Regions from separate parts of the Homo sapiens genome. Here region 1 is linked to region 2. Evidence: promoter capture Hi-C in 16 types of primary human blood cells and fetal thymus (Javierre and others, 2016). All regions are on one chromosome and are shown on one strand. The core of a region is centred on a gene start or on the middle of the fragment in contact, and the rest is flanking DNA. Distances in the headings are between cores, read along the strand shown.

Region 1 (7,358 bases), core at 1,831-4,330, 630 kb before region 2:
CTTCAGAATAACTTCTCTGACTATGCCCTACATTTTCTACAACAGCACAAAATATGCCCTCAGATCATCTGGGCAAGTCCCCTAATCTCAGGGATGTCACACATCATTCCTATGTTACTTCTTTCTGACAGACTAGAGTCCCTGGACTCCGTCCACTTTGTGGTTTCTGTATCTTTAAACTCCTACTACAGAAATATGCTAGTGACCCTTATCTTTCTGTACAAATTTTACTTCATGCATCAGGATCTTAAGCTATGGAATGTAACACTGTAGCTATGCTCTAATATAAGCAAAAAACAAACAAACAAAACAAAAAAATCCTTTGCAGAACAAAGCAAGGTATGAAGGGATAACTGAGATCTCTCTGTTTCCAGGGCTTTAAGGATTAGGGAAGGGTCCACTCCTTCTCTGGTGTATTTAATACATTAAAGAGGATCCACAGGTTCCTTCCAGTACACATCTTCCATCGTCTATTTGCAACCTATTTCTTCTTTTTATATTGTCTTCAATAAATCCAACATTCTCCCTACTGCTCTCTTCTACTAGTAGAGTGGGTCCCATAATTCCTTTTTCCCACAACAGAATTAGAGCAAAATCCTGAGTGAATAAAATGTTCTTGTTCTCAGCACAACATGCAGAGTCCCCCTTCTATGTTTTTCTACCTGCCTATTTTAAAAAGGTAATGTATTTTTTTTTGGTCAATCTTAGTTTGCTTTTCATTTTGTGAACAATATATTCTCTCCTACCTCAAATGACCCAAAAGCTGCATTCATTTAGAGTTAATCAGCTTAGGTATTGGTTAGTAGTGGCCAGAACAGTAGTTTAGGAGTCAGGAAACAGAGCTTCCTAGTACTGGCTCTGCCACTAAACGTCATTTTGGAGATTTATGGGCCTCAGTTTCCTCATATGTTAAACAAGGAGGGTAAAGCTGGTCTCTGAATCCCTTCCTGATAGTCTATGGTACTGTGAATTACAACTATCAATTAGTATGATGCAACAAAAGGTGAAGAGCAAAGTTAGTAACATATGTAGTGAATGCATTTTTCAGACATTTTTACGGTATCTAGAAAACCTTATAATACTGAAATGTGAAATCCAACATCTCATTTTAAAAGTCTAGTTTAAGAAGTAAGATTTAGGCCAGGCGCAGTGGCTCACGCCTGTAATCCCAACACTTTGGGAGGCCAAGGTGGGCGGATCACAAGGTCAGGAGATCAAGACCATCCTGGCTAACACGGTGAAACCCCGTCTCTACTAAAAATACAAAAAATTAGGTGGGCGTGGTGGCGGGTGCCTGAAGTCCCAGCTACTCGGGAGTCTGAGGCAGGAGAATCGCTTGAACCCGGGAGGCAGAGGTTGCAGTGAGCCGAGATCATGCCACTGCACTCCAGCCTGGGCGACACAGTGAGACTCCGTCTTAAAAAAAAAAAAAAAAGGAAACAAGATTTAGTAATCCCAGATCTTCAGAAATACAGTTAACCATCATTTAGTGTAGTGTTTCTAAATCCTTTTTTCATTATTGACCCTCTAAAAAGCCTTTTTAGACATTTTTCCCCTAATTGCTCCCCCTTCGTGAAATTTTAATAACACATATATAGTATATATCTGTGTACATACTGTATGTATATCTGCGCTTTATACATAAAAAGAGTAAAAATTTTTCACACTCCCCCAAGAACTATTTTCTCTTCCCCTTGGGGGAAGTATCACCCAGTGAGAATGTGTAATTTAGGAGATCAAGCTTCTGTGGTACCAAAACTTTCTGCTCCAATAAAAAATAGGTGTAGGCCAGGAGCAGTGGCTCACGTCTGTAATACCAGCACTTTGGGAGGCTGAGGCAGGCGGATCCCCTGAGGCCAGGAGTTCGAGACCAGCCTGGCCAACATGGTGAAACCCTGTCTCTACTAAAAATACAAAAAATTAGGCCGGGCACGGTGGCTTACGCCTGTAATCCCAGCACTTTGGGAGGCCGAGGCGGGCGGATCACGAGGTCAGGAGATCAAGACCATCCTGACTAACACGGTGAAACCCTGTCTCTACTAAAAATACAAAAAATTAGCCGGGAGTGTTGGTGGGCGCCTGTAGTCCCAGCTACTTGGGAGGCTGAGTCAGGAGAATGGCGTGAACCCGGGAGGTGGAGCTTGCAGTGAGCCGAGATCACGCCACTGCACTCCAGCCTGGGCGACAGAGTGAGACTCCGTCTCAAAAATAAATAAACAAATAAATAAAAAATAAAAATACAAAAAATTACCAGGTGTGGTGGTGGGCGCCTGTAATCCTAGCTACTAGGGAGGCTGAGGCATGAGAATTGCTTGAAGCCAGGAGGCGGAGGTTACAGTAAGCTGAGATCGTGCCAATGCACTCCAGCCTGGGCGACAGAGCAAGACTCCGTCTCAAAAAAAGACAAAAAAAAAAATGTAAAAAAGTCCAAAGCTTATTTGCTTGACAACCATTTCCATTCAAGCGGCTGGAGGTGAAGGTCAGAGGTGACAAAGCAGCTGAAATGACAAATATTACAGTCATGGCAGAAGATCTGGAGGTGAGTGGGGGAGGATACTAAGTTTCTTCAAAGGAGTGGGTAAGAAATGGGTTGAAGTTAGAAAAAAGCCGTGCTCCACACCAACTGGCTGCTACTTTCGGGTCCGAGTGGACTATCAGGGGAGGATGTTCAGATTCAGATGTTTGTCAACCTCAGGGTGGGTGCGCGCTCCCCCTCAGGTCAGCCCGTCCCACTACCCCCACCCAAGGTTGAGGGTGGGATCTCCGGACACCAGGAACAAGGGAGTTACCTGCAGAACCTCAACAAATAAAGGGACGGGAATTCTATAGGAAATCACTTTCCCGAACACCTCCTCCCCACCGCTTGCCTCCTCCAGTATCTCAACCCGGCTCACCCAAGTCCATTGATCAAAGGGGCACTGTTGACTCTTCTCAGAATGTTGCCGTCTGCGGTAGTGGAACTCGGCAGCGACTTGAAACCTAGTTTCATTTTCTCCTGTGCCATGTCCGGGTCGAGGAATAAGTTCTCAAGGCTTTCCGGCTCCCGTCCACACAAGGACAAGTCTACTTAGTGGGCAGGTGATGTAAGGAGAGAGGCAAAGGGGAAAAAGAGAAGAGAGGAGAAAGCTCTTAGGCGAGTAGGGGTGCCCACCTTTGCAGCCCTAGCAGCCCTAACATCAGTGAACACAAAGTTAGGCAGAACTGGCTCCGAACCGCCTATCTCCCATGATCGGGGCCTCTAACGATGAGAAGATCCCCCACCTCCAAGTCTATAATGTAACTGGGGAATTTAATCTGTCACCGCCGCGAATCCTTCTCCATCTCTCTCAGCCCTGGCAACTCATGGTAAGCCTTTCCGGCCAAAACAAAAACTACAATCTGCCGCCTTTGACAATCAGTTGGGTCCCGCCCCTCAGAGCCTGCGATAAGCTATCAGCCGGACGACGCCTGTTGTGATGCAGGCAATGACGTCACTTCAGGCGCCTTAGTCAGCTTTGCCAGGGGCGCACGCGCAGTTAAGAAACCGCTTTATCCCCATGTCCTGCCCTCCTTCCTCTTTCCCCAATGCCCACTTACCGTGGTTGTGCCTCTACTCTTTTACTAACCCTGGCATGGTTTCCTTAAGCATTATTTAGAAATGAAAGCGTTGGGAGGAGTGAGGTCCTTCCTGCCCTATGCCTAATTCTCATTTTTCTTATCCCTTTATGACTGAGGCCAACAAGCTTCTAACCTCCTATGATGCATTTTTCCATCCTGTAACAGCAGACACACTACACCTTTGTAATTTTAGAAAAGCAAAAGTCTGAAAAAAAAAAAAAAAAAAAGATACTGCTACCTAAGTGCTTAGAGGCCACTTGGTCCCAAAGGGTCTTGCTAAGGTGCTAACCTAACTGAGCTCATTTGGCAAACGAATTACTGTTTTCAGTGTGGTTTCTTTCTTTCTTTTTTAAACCATAATCGTACAGTTTTTTGTTTTTTTTTTTTTGAGATGGAATTTCGCTCTTGTTGCTCAGGCTGGAGTGCAGTGGCCGCGATCTCGGCTCACTGCAACCTCCACCTCCCAGGTTCAAGCGATTCTCCTGCCTCAGCCTCCCGAGTAGCTGGGATTACAGGTGCTCGCCACCACGCCTGGTTAATTTTTGTATTTTAGTAGAGACGGGGTTTCACCATGTTGGCCAGGCTGGTCTCGAACTCCTGGACCTCAGGTGATCCGCCCGCCTCGTCCTCCCAAAGTGCTGGGATTACAGGCGTGAGCCACCGCGCCTGCCTCAGTGTGTATTTTTACATTATATATAATCTGGCTCCTCACAGCTATTCATATAAAAAATAAAGACCTCAGCTAATTTACAAAGATTTGAGTTAAAGCAGTGAGGCTTTTTTAAAAACAAATATCTCAGAATTTAGTATCAATGCAAATCAGTGTTTTCATTTCAGGTAGTATTAGAAGCTACATACATTCTAAGAATGCTGCCATGGCTCATATCGTTTTAAGAACTACTCTTTTAGAAATTTTCACCATCACTTAATGAGCCACACTGAGTACTGAAATCTTAACTCCATGCTAATAATTTTGTAAAACCACACATTTTAGTAACCATATAGAGAACTGGCAGACAAGGCAAATAAACCTAGTGAAATGGGAGTTATTAATTAAAATAGTCATAACACTGGTATAGCACTTTACGGATAACATTTTTTTTTTTTTGAGACGGAGTTTCGCTCTTGTTGCCCAGGCTGGAGTGCAATGGCGCAATCTTGGCTCACCACAACCTCCACCTCCCTGGTTCAAGCGATTCTCCTGACTCAGCCTCCAGAGTAGCTGGGATTACAGGCATGTGCCACCACTCCCAGCTAATTTTGTATTTTTAGTAGAGATGGGGTTTCTCCATGTTGGTCAGGCTGGTCTCGAACTCCCGACCTCAGGTGATCCACCCGCCTCGGCCTCCCAAAGTGCTGGGATTACAGGTATGAGCCTCCACGCCTGGCCTACAAAATGTTTTCACATACTTATCTGGATTGGTTCAATCATCAACCCTGCTCAGCTACCCAGTGGTGAACTTAAAATAATGGGACAGTCTTGAGATAGTTCGTGACAAGTTATGACATGTAAGGTAATAAATATGTATTCTTTGTTCATTCTGGGAATAGAATAAGACAAACTTGAGTATATTAGGCAGAATTAGATTACTTAAATCCCAGACATGAGGATGATGTGGAGTCTCCATTCCTTATATAAGACAGATTAGTAATAGCTACCGTTTGTTGGGCACTTACTATGTGCCAGGTACTGTCCTAATCACTTTAAATAGGTGATTGCATTTAAAGTTTACAATAATTCTTTGAGGTAGGCACCATCACAATGCCCATTTTTCACAGGAGGAAACCAAAGCCCAGAGGGGTTTACTCAAGTTGCAACTACTAAGTGGCAAAGCCAAGATTCCTCTGCCCTTCTGTTTAAGTAAAAAAAAAAATGAGATGCCTCAGAATATCTCCTTGAATTTCTGTACTCATAAGCACTTGATAAATACTTCTGAAATTATTTTATGAATAAATGCAGGTTTAAATAGCCTATCTTTCATAGTTATCTTGTAAAGTAGGTAAATCATTTCTATTTTACAGTTGGATAAAATTCCAAAGAGATTAATGGCACATAATTAGATAGCAGGAGAATTCAGGCTAGTATCAAGATGTCCTAAAAGCCACTGTTAAAATTCCCAGGGTACCTGAACGTTTATAAAAGATGGTGGTTAAAGCTGAGTAAATTCAGGATGAATGCAGAAGGCAGTGATTAAAGACAGAACAGAGTCAAAAAACAAATTGTCTGAATAACAGAAAAATATGAAGCAGGCCAGTGAACAAGGGAATCTTACCTCCATTGTGTTCATTTTAATTTTCAACTTTTGCTAGTATTCTTGGCAGGTAGTAAGGTTTCATACGTATATTTTGAATAAATAGACAAAATTTCATCCTGCCTAAGCATTACAAGTATCTAATTTTTAAATAAGTACAACAACACTAAGAAAATAGGTATAATAAAATGACAAGGGAAGAGTGACTAAGGGACTATGTTTCTAAGAAAAGGAGTAATATGAAATAACTAAATATATGAGATGGTAATAAGTTTACAGCTATTATCAAAGAGAAGGAGCTCTCTTTTACAAAAGAACAGCTACATGTCAGGAACCCCAAACCTGTAAAGATATAAATAGGACTCATAGTACATACACAAATTGGAATATCAAAAGGAACAAGTAATACAAAAACAGCAAGAATTCTATATGCTACAATGGCAAACACAACATTAAAGAAATTGTTTTTACTTCTCCCCATTTCTACGCACACATTATTATACCAACCTAGCTGTGTTTCTTGATCAGTCCTTCCAGTTCCAGGGAAATATGCCATGATCTTGGGACACTGCTTTTGTTAGATCTAGACTTGACAATTAGGCTACTCCTCTCTTTGCATATCCCAGTCTGCTGCGTCTGTCCCAGGCCCTCACCTATAAAAGGGAACCAACAAACATGTGATAATCAGCTCTTTATTTTACCAGTTGTCATGACAACCTTGAAGCTACGTTGTAACCTTTAGTTACCACAAGAGCAAGTCAAATACAAGTCAAACCCAAATCTACAAACCACAAACACCCCAAACCTTCCCAAAAGATTTACATGAAAGGTTAAAAAAAAAAAAAAAACTAGCAGGCAAGAATGATGTTAATAAAACCTAGAAATGATGGCCAAAGTAGCATTATTCTCCTCGCGTTCTCCTAAATTGTTAAGCTCCTGAGGTCAGTGCATGCATGTGGTCAACAAATGATTGTTTAGTAGCTATTGTGAACAAAAGAATGTATTATAATTTCTTTTGAGCAGGGAGTAGGAGGTGGGGCTGGCCTTAAGGGTTGCTGAGACCTTGAGATAAAAAGAGATACCTAAGTTGCTCAAAAACAGAGGTTGTTGTTTCTAATCTAGCTGGGAGAAAAATACAGGCAATTTAAAGGAAACTATCTAAAAGTACTTACAAATCCCTCATACTGCAGGCAGAAAGCATAAACAGTGAGGAATAAAATGATAATTGGCCTTGGCAAGTTTAGTATGGGATAATTGAAAAGAGGCAGGCAAAATTATTATTTCTGGCTGAATTTTGAAAGCAATTTCAGAACTATTACATTTCAATGCAATGGCCTTCTCTTCCCCAGGGCCATTCAAGTGGTGAGGATTAAAAGAGTTTGTGGAGTCCTGATAAGATAAGTAAGAAACAATGAGAAAGGGGCCCCAGGTGGGGAAGAACAATGAAAAATTGTTCTGAGAGACCTAGGGCACAAAGACCTCCTTCCACATGTGGCCCCAGCAGCATGA
Region 2 (6,990 bases), core at 3,282-5,781:
ATATTCACTAGAATTATTTGTCTTGCTGTTTCTCCAAAATCAACAAGCAGACTCTATATTTAAAATGGCTTTGTTTATTAGCCTTGATATCCTCCAAGGAAACACTGAACTTTGATCTAGTTAATTAATTATAAAAAACATAAAAGTTTAACATACTATAATACAGTATCTTTTTGTAATACATACCAACATATCATGTTTGCTTCTTTAACCTTAAGTTCTTGAAAACTTAAAACAGATCCTAGAATAATGTTTAGTTAAGCAAGTTTATCAATTTGATATCTAAACATTTTCACAAATATGCAATCCATACTTGATCATAACTTGCACATTTTCTTCTTGCTTTTATCTACTAGCACATAAACCATTTTAATTATTAAAGATGGTTTAATAAGTAGCAGCTATAGAAATGGGATCACTGAAAGCTATAAAGGATCAGTTCGTCTTAGGGATGTTAATCATTTTTTAAATTTAGGGAGTAAAGTTTCAAGTAGTAAAATTCATTAGGATTTAAAAAAGTGAGGGATGAGATGGACAGCTCACTCTTTTCTGAAAGAATAAAAATATGCTCAGAGCTCCAAGTAGGGTCATAAATTATATGATTTTAAATAATAAAACTTCATCTTTCCATCTTTGATTTTTAAATCAGTAGTCTTCCTGTTGACTTAGACATCCTTTCAAAAATTTCAAAAGTAAGCTAGATTACATTTGTTTTGAGAAAATAAAATCTCCCCTTTCATTTTAAAAGTAGATGTCCTCTGTAGGCTGTATCTGTTGAAAGATTCCCTTTTACAGTGAGTGTTAGCCCTGTTATTTAGGTTGTTGCAAGCTTTCATTGCAGTCCTTTCAGGCATCTGGATAATTCAACACATTTCACTGCGCCTTCCTCCTCAGCATAAAAAAGGCCAGACAATAGTTCTACTTCCTTCAGCAATCACAAGTCAGGAGACAGTTAAAGAGAATCTCTAAGCTTAGCAGAGTACTACCAAACTAAGGATAAATGTTATCTTTGAGGAGAAAAAAAGAGAGAGGCTCCAAAAAATACCATTTTGCCCTCTTTGCACATAGGTAGTAGAAGATTATCATGCTTTATTTTAGTTATAGCAGACAGAATATTAAATAACTTAAAGCTTCCTAACTTAAAAGCATATTTGTCATCTAGAGTTTTTACTTCTCAATCATGACATTTTCAATAACAGACTTATTGGTGTAAGATTATTAAATAATGAGATAATTTTTAATACCATGATTTACTTGCTTTGGAAGACAATGTTATGGTGATGACGTTTTAGAGACTGTTTTGAATGTAAAACTATATTTTTTATTGTGTTCCGTACCATGACATATTTTCCACTTAGAAAATTTATAATGGTGCAAAGATGGACAAACTTAATCAGAAAAGTGATTGAAAAAAGTGATGTGTGTAAAACATTTCTGGTTTACAGCTTTTTCTTTGATTATAGTATTACAGTCTGCTAGCAATTTTATGGTTTGTAATACCAGAAGTTCCACTTCTAAGGTCACATAAACAGGAAAATCAAAGTGTTTCAAACAGAGTGTAAAAATACCTTTAACACTATTTAATCTTAATAGTGAATCACTTTAATGTCTACTGAGTCTATTCTCAAGGTGGGAGAATTAATTTGAGAAACAATTTTTCTACTGATGGCAAGCAGGTTATTCTTATATCTTTTCAATATTTGCACACATATTTTGATGTAAAATATTTGACATGTAAAAAATATGGTTGTTAGTGAGAGGAAATTGTGTTTTAACATACTACTGAGAAAAGCAAAGACCCACACAACAAGGTAATTTTAAGGCATCACATAATAGCAAAATTAGCTCCATGTTGTAAGTTCTAGTACCAACATATTTCAGCTGAATTATGTGAGATGTAATTTAATTGTATTTTAATTTGATTACTCTTTTGATTTAAAATAAGATTAAATCATTACTAGAGATAAGAAATGTTTGTAAATAGACACTTATTCTAAAAAATCAAAGTTAGCAAAGACCAGCTTGTAAAAGTAAGGTTTACTTACAAGTAAAATTTAGTAAAATGTGTATTTTAAACGTATTTGTATATCAGAAAAGTTGATCCACCTTCTGGTGCCATTTGGTCTTCATAAAATCCTTTGAGATTGGGATAAGTATATTTTTACTTTCTACATTTTTTAAACTAAGTTATATTAACTGTGCATGTTCAATTAGTGAAATTTTCTGCTTCTTATCAAGTGGCAAATCTTTTGAAATTGATATTTCATTCTCATGGACGCTATTTAGTTGAAGATGTATTTATTTTATTTACATGATTTATGTTGGCATATGCTATTGAAAAGAAATAAGATTCAGAAATTCATTACTGACTCTAATTTTTCTCTTTGTTCTGCTGACATAAATTTTCATAAACAAATTAAGGCCTGGTCCAAAAAATTCAAATTTCATTTTTTCAGGCTGATTTGTGTTAGTATGATTGGCATTCAAAAGAAGATTGATTCATCTAAAAACTATGAAATGTTTGCAAATGAAGGAATACTTCGTTTAAAAAATAAAGTTAGTGAAGACCAGTTTTGATAGACTTCTAATGAAATCACAGTTCCTGCTCTAGGATCAAATAGCAAAATAGCATTTGAAATATTTTGTTTGGGATCTTCCGCCTCCATTCTGTTTAGTGAGTGTTCTGATCTGCTGGCTTTGTTTTAGGCCTCATGGGCATGCACATGAGCACATGAACATAAACACACAAATGTAGCAAAACACATATTTCAGTGGGACACTAAACTTCTCATCCTGGGCAAAACCAGAGTGTAACAGACCTTAATTGCAAGTGTAGTTCAAAAATGTAGAGTAGTAAATACACATAGAACAAAAGCTCTATTCTAGTTGTGTGAGGAACATAATACTCTTAAATTACTTTCTGGTTTCCATGGGGACCTTTTTGTTCTAAGATACCAATCATTAGGTTTAACAAAGCCACTTAATATTATTTCTAAATCAAGTAACATGATTTCTCAACTGGGTAAAATGTCAATTTTATTCTTAAAGGTGTTCAAATCCAAACTACTTGAGATTGCTGCTTTATATGGCATAATTAAATCTAGAGGTCAATACAGAAGAATCCCTTCACCCCTTTTCAAGGCAGAGGAAAGCTCAAAGTGGGTCTATTTTGAGGGGAATATTTTGCTGGGCATTCACCGTTTTTCTTTGAATCCATCATAAACTCAAAATAGTGTCAAGAATTTAAAGTTGTGATGAGAATCCTTAGGCTCACGAAAGATAACAAGTTCTCCCTCCCTTTGGCCAGTTTCCATACCTTTCTTACACATTCTGACAGAACATCTGGGCTTTCGTGTAGGCATGTATTCTATATCATATTTACATACATGCGTATATACGCACACCGGCCAGTCTGTTTGGTCATAAATGATGTGACTGGGGGATAGGAGTTGTGGCTCCTTTATTTTGCAGAATGCCTAAGTATTGTTTGTCTCACAATACTGGGAGCGAGCAGGAGCCCGGTGGGAGCCTGGAGCCTTAAGCCCTGGGCTGTGGTCTGGGGGAGGGGACGGGGTTGCGGGGTCACAAGCTCTTTGCTTTTAGCCTCAGCATGACCACAAGTTTTAAAGCATGAAGGGATCACGTGCTTTTCTTTGAGCTGTTAGTTATTCTGACTTTTGGGGGGGGTGTGTGTGAAATGCTTTGTTCTTTAGATTTTTTTGATTCTCTAGGTATTTTGGCCGATGATTAAATTTTTTTTCCAAAAGAAAGAGACAAAAATAAATCATTTGGTGTATCAAAATGTCCTAGTTTCTCATAACCTATATCTTGTACTTAGTTAGTTTTACCTTGTGCTAGACAGGTACTGAGATGGAATAAATTATTTTCGCCAGTTGGGAACTTGATCCAGACATTCTATATGTTGCAAACCCTTAAAAAAAATTAAGAACAAGAAAATATCCTGGTAAAGCAATCTCAAAATACCTTATTCCGGGTATTGTTCTAGCTTTAAAGGGAAGGAGGACTGGGAGGAGGGGTGGGAGATGGGGGGTGGCGAATAGGAAGACTGGGAGGATGTCTTGTTTAATGAACTGCTAAAACTTTTGGAAAATTTTAAGCTAGTGAAGTCCCTCAACACGGTATTTCCATTTGAAAACCTTTACTTAAATATGTCACTCTTGGGGAGTTACTTCTACTTGTTCCCTTTAATAGGATGATTTCATCTTTTCCAACCTTCTTCTGTCTCTCCAACCAAGACACATAGACTCCGAATACCAAATAAAGACTTTTGAAGATAATGAGATTTATTTGGGAACATTTTCCAAAATCAGGGTAATGGGTTTTTTTGTTCTGATGTTGAAGAGGATGAGGATATGTTTACTCATTGACCCGGGAGCTCTGGCTGCAGCTGTAGGACACAATTAATTATGCTAATAGTTTGTGAGGAGCGGATGTAGCTCCCCCAACCCCCCTTTTTTCGAGGGGAGGGGAGTTTGGCAAAAGGGGAAGGAGACGCCCTGGGGTCGGATCACATGATATTATCTTCGCGCCACTTTCGCAAAAACCCTTTTTTTTACTCCAGGTTTTGCTCCAGCTCAAAGGTACTGTTCTTATCTTGCTTTAATACAACGCTTCTTAAAGTCGGGTCTAAGTTCTCTTCCCTCCCCCTCCTCTTCTTTCCACTGCTAGTCGTTACCATTAAAGGTCGAAAGTTGCATTGCAGTCGGTGCAATCTCACAGGAGGGATCTGGTTGGGTAGTAAACTTCGGGCTGCGTAGTTTCCAGAAAGTATCACGCAGACGTGCCAGGGTAGGCTGCAAGGTCTGTTGCATGAAAAAGGGGAGGAAGCCCACCTGTGCGAGTGACTCGCGTTGGAGAAATGATTGTGGTTTTCGTTGCATCCACCGCTGACTCCTGAGGGGCGCTGGCAGTTCAGGTTGGACTCTTTCGCGGGCCAGGGGCGGGAGAGGCCAGTCTTTTGTAATGTTTGCCTGAGCTACTACTGTGCACCAGTGCACCAGGTTGAGAATCACATGGCGCCCTTGTCCTCTTCTGGGCTTTGGGCTGCCACAATCACCCTGGTAACAATGGTGGAAAGGGAGGGGTCCGGCTTCATTTTGCACCCCTTCCCTCCTTCCTTGCCCCCCGCTTGCCTTCCAGGGCTTTCCTCCTCCGACCCAGCGTGCTCACTGGTCTCTGATTTGTAACCTCGTACCCTGCACACCCCCGCCCACCCCCCCAACCCCCGCACGCTCCCCAAATCCCATCTTGCGCCTGTGTCCGCCAGGGACGCGGAGAAGGTATATAGCCCGGTTGTCTCTCATTTTGCCCGGTGTTCAAAGTCTGGTATGCTTAATTCCATTTTGATTGTGCGTCTTAAACTAAGACATCATTTTATTCTACAGAGCGCTGTCGGGCTTTGGCCTTGAAGCAGCCCGCCCTCAATTGGTTCTCATTAGCGGTGGAATGAGAGGAGAAAGCAAGATAATTGCACCGTATCTTCCGCACATTTGCGCGTGTATTCGGTGGCTGCTACCGTTAACGATACCTGCCAAGAAACCCTGATTTAGTGGGTGAAGAGGGCGCCTGGCAAGGGCGAAAGCCTCCCAACAGTAGCACAAGGTGCTAGGGGTTAAAACTTTCACATGTGCAGAGAGTAAGTCGTGTTTCTATTTCTTCCCTCCTCGGGCCTTAGGAACACTTTCAATCTAGCGGCGAGGTGGCGCGCATGCGCGCGCCGGGTGGGGGACACCCCTGTCCCACGGCTCCGTGGGCCTCGTCGTCTGTCTCCGGTGGGGGGCTGAGGCGAGCGCCGCGGGAGCGAGATGGGACAAGGTGGTAGTGAGTGCGCCATCCTGGCCCGGATGCCGGTGGCACCCGCACCGGCTCCGGCCACGGCCTCTGCCTGGGCCGCTGTCCCAGGCGCGCCTTTAATTAAGGACTCCAGCTTGGGGGAAGAGAGAAGGGAAAATGCCGACTGCGGTCCGCCCGTGGGTAACTGGGGCTCGGTGGGGTTTTCGCTTTGGCGGGGTGGGGGTTCCGTTTCCTAATTCCTGTGCGGGCCGGGTGGGCGGGGGCGGGCTTTTTTCCTTGGGCTATTAAAGGCAGAGGGGCGGGCTTTTCCCAGGGATATAGCTACGGACAGAGGGCCAAGGGGACGGAGCGCTCCTCAAGTGGTGGCAGGGAGGCTCGTGGCCCCGCGTCGCTCTGGACAGGGGCGCTTTGGGGTGAGATGTGCGCTCGCGGCCTTGATCCATTTAGTGGACGCTTTTTCTCACTTCTCTTCCCCTTCTGGCTCCGCGGGAGACTGCGCTCGCACCCGGCCCCGGAGCGCTCGAGCTGCGCGCTGGGACACTGGGTATACGTGTGGAGGGGACACCCGGAGAGGGCGGCCCGTGCGGGATCCCCGCGCTCTCCACCTGCGAGGGGCGGGCCGGAGCTGGGTCCCGCGCGCGGTTTCCCGAGCGGGTGGCTGGGCAAGAAGGGAGCCCTTCGTTGGGGCAGCTGTGATCCGGTAGAGTTGACTGGTTGGGTGGGAGGGGACGGAGCGGGCGGGACTTGAGAAAAGCAAAGTACCAGAGTGCGGTTGAGGGGTAGCGGGCAGCGCGCGGGAAACGACTCCCCTTTTCTTCTCCACCGTTGACCTTTAGGTTCCTGGAAAACTTTGGTGGTGAGGGTGTGAAATGAGGGGGTGCACGTGGAGGGAAAAAAGGGACTCCCCTCCCTCTTGGCTTCTATCCCACCAACCCGGGAATGGAGGGGGAGGGAGGCGTGGGCTTGGCGCGTTTTTGGTGCTTTGAATGGAGAACTCCGTTTCCCATGATGCTTTGTTTCTTTCTCTTTAATTTCGGCGGCGGCTGAGGCTGCACGAGGACTGGAGCGCGTGGTGTGAGCAGCTGGAGCACACCCTGGACGCGCGGGCTGCTCGCGGACTTCAACGGGAGCATTAGGTAAGGGTGTGAGAGACGCGGGAAGAGGCAAAAGGGAGCC

What was found. Contacts are between HindIII fragments. The CHiCAGO score rates a contact against its expected background, and 5 or more counts as called.
Region 1: a fragment that was not itself captured here is called in contact with the fragment with the promoter of MIR106AHG in region 2 in 1 of 17 cell types (total B cells); the score reaches 6.5 in total B cells.

What each region holds. Positions count from the first base shown.
Region 1 is chrX:134,803,245-134,810,602 of GRCh38, reverse strand. PABIR3 (PABIR family member 3) reads right to left here and starts at 3,366. Exons shown (of 11, transcript NM_001388447.1): 1 at 3,262-3,366; 2 at 2,895-3,063. The coding sequence starts at 3,004. RefSeq lists enhancers at 1,508-2,464, 2,850-3,009. The HindIII fragment of the contact is 1,289 bases long and covers 2,436-3,724 here.
Region 2 is chrX:134,171,629-134,178,618 of GRCh38, reverse strand. MIR106AHG (miR-106a-363 cluster host gene) reads left to right here and starts at 4,531. Exons shown (of 2, transcript XR_007068340.1): 1 at 4,531-6,950. RefSeq lists a silencer at 3,406-3,700 and an enhancer at 5,659-6,466. The HindIII fragment of the contact is 10,100 bases long and covers 1,133-6,990 here.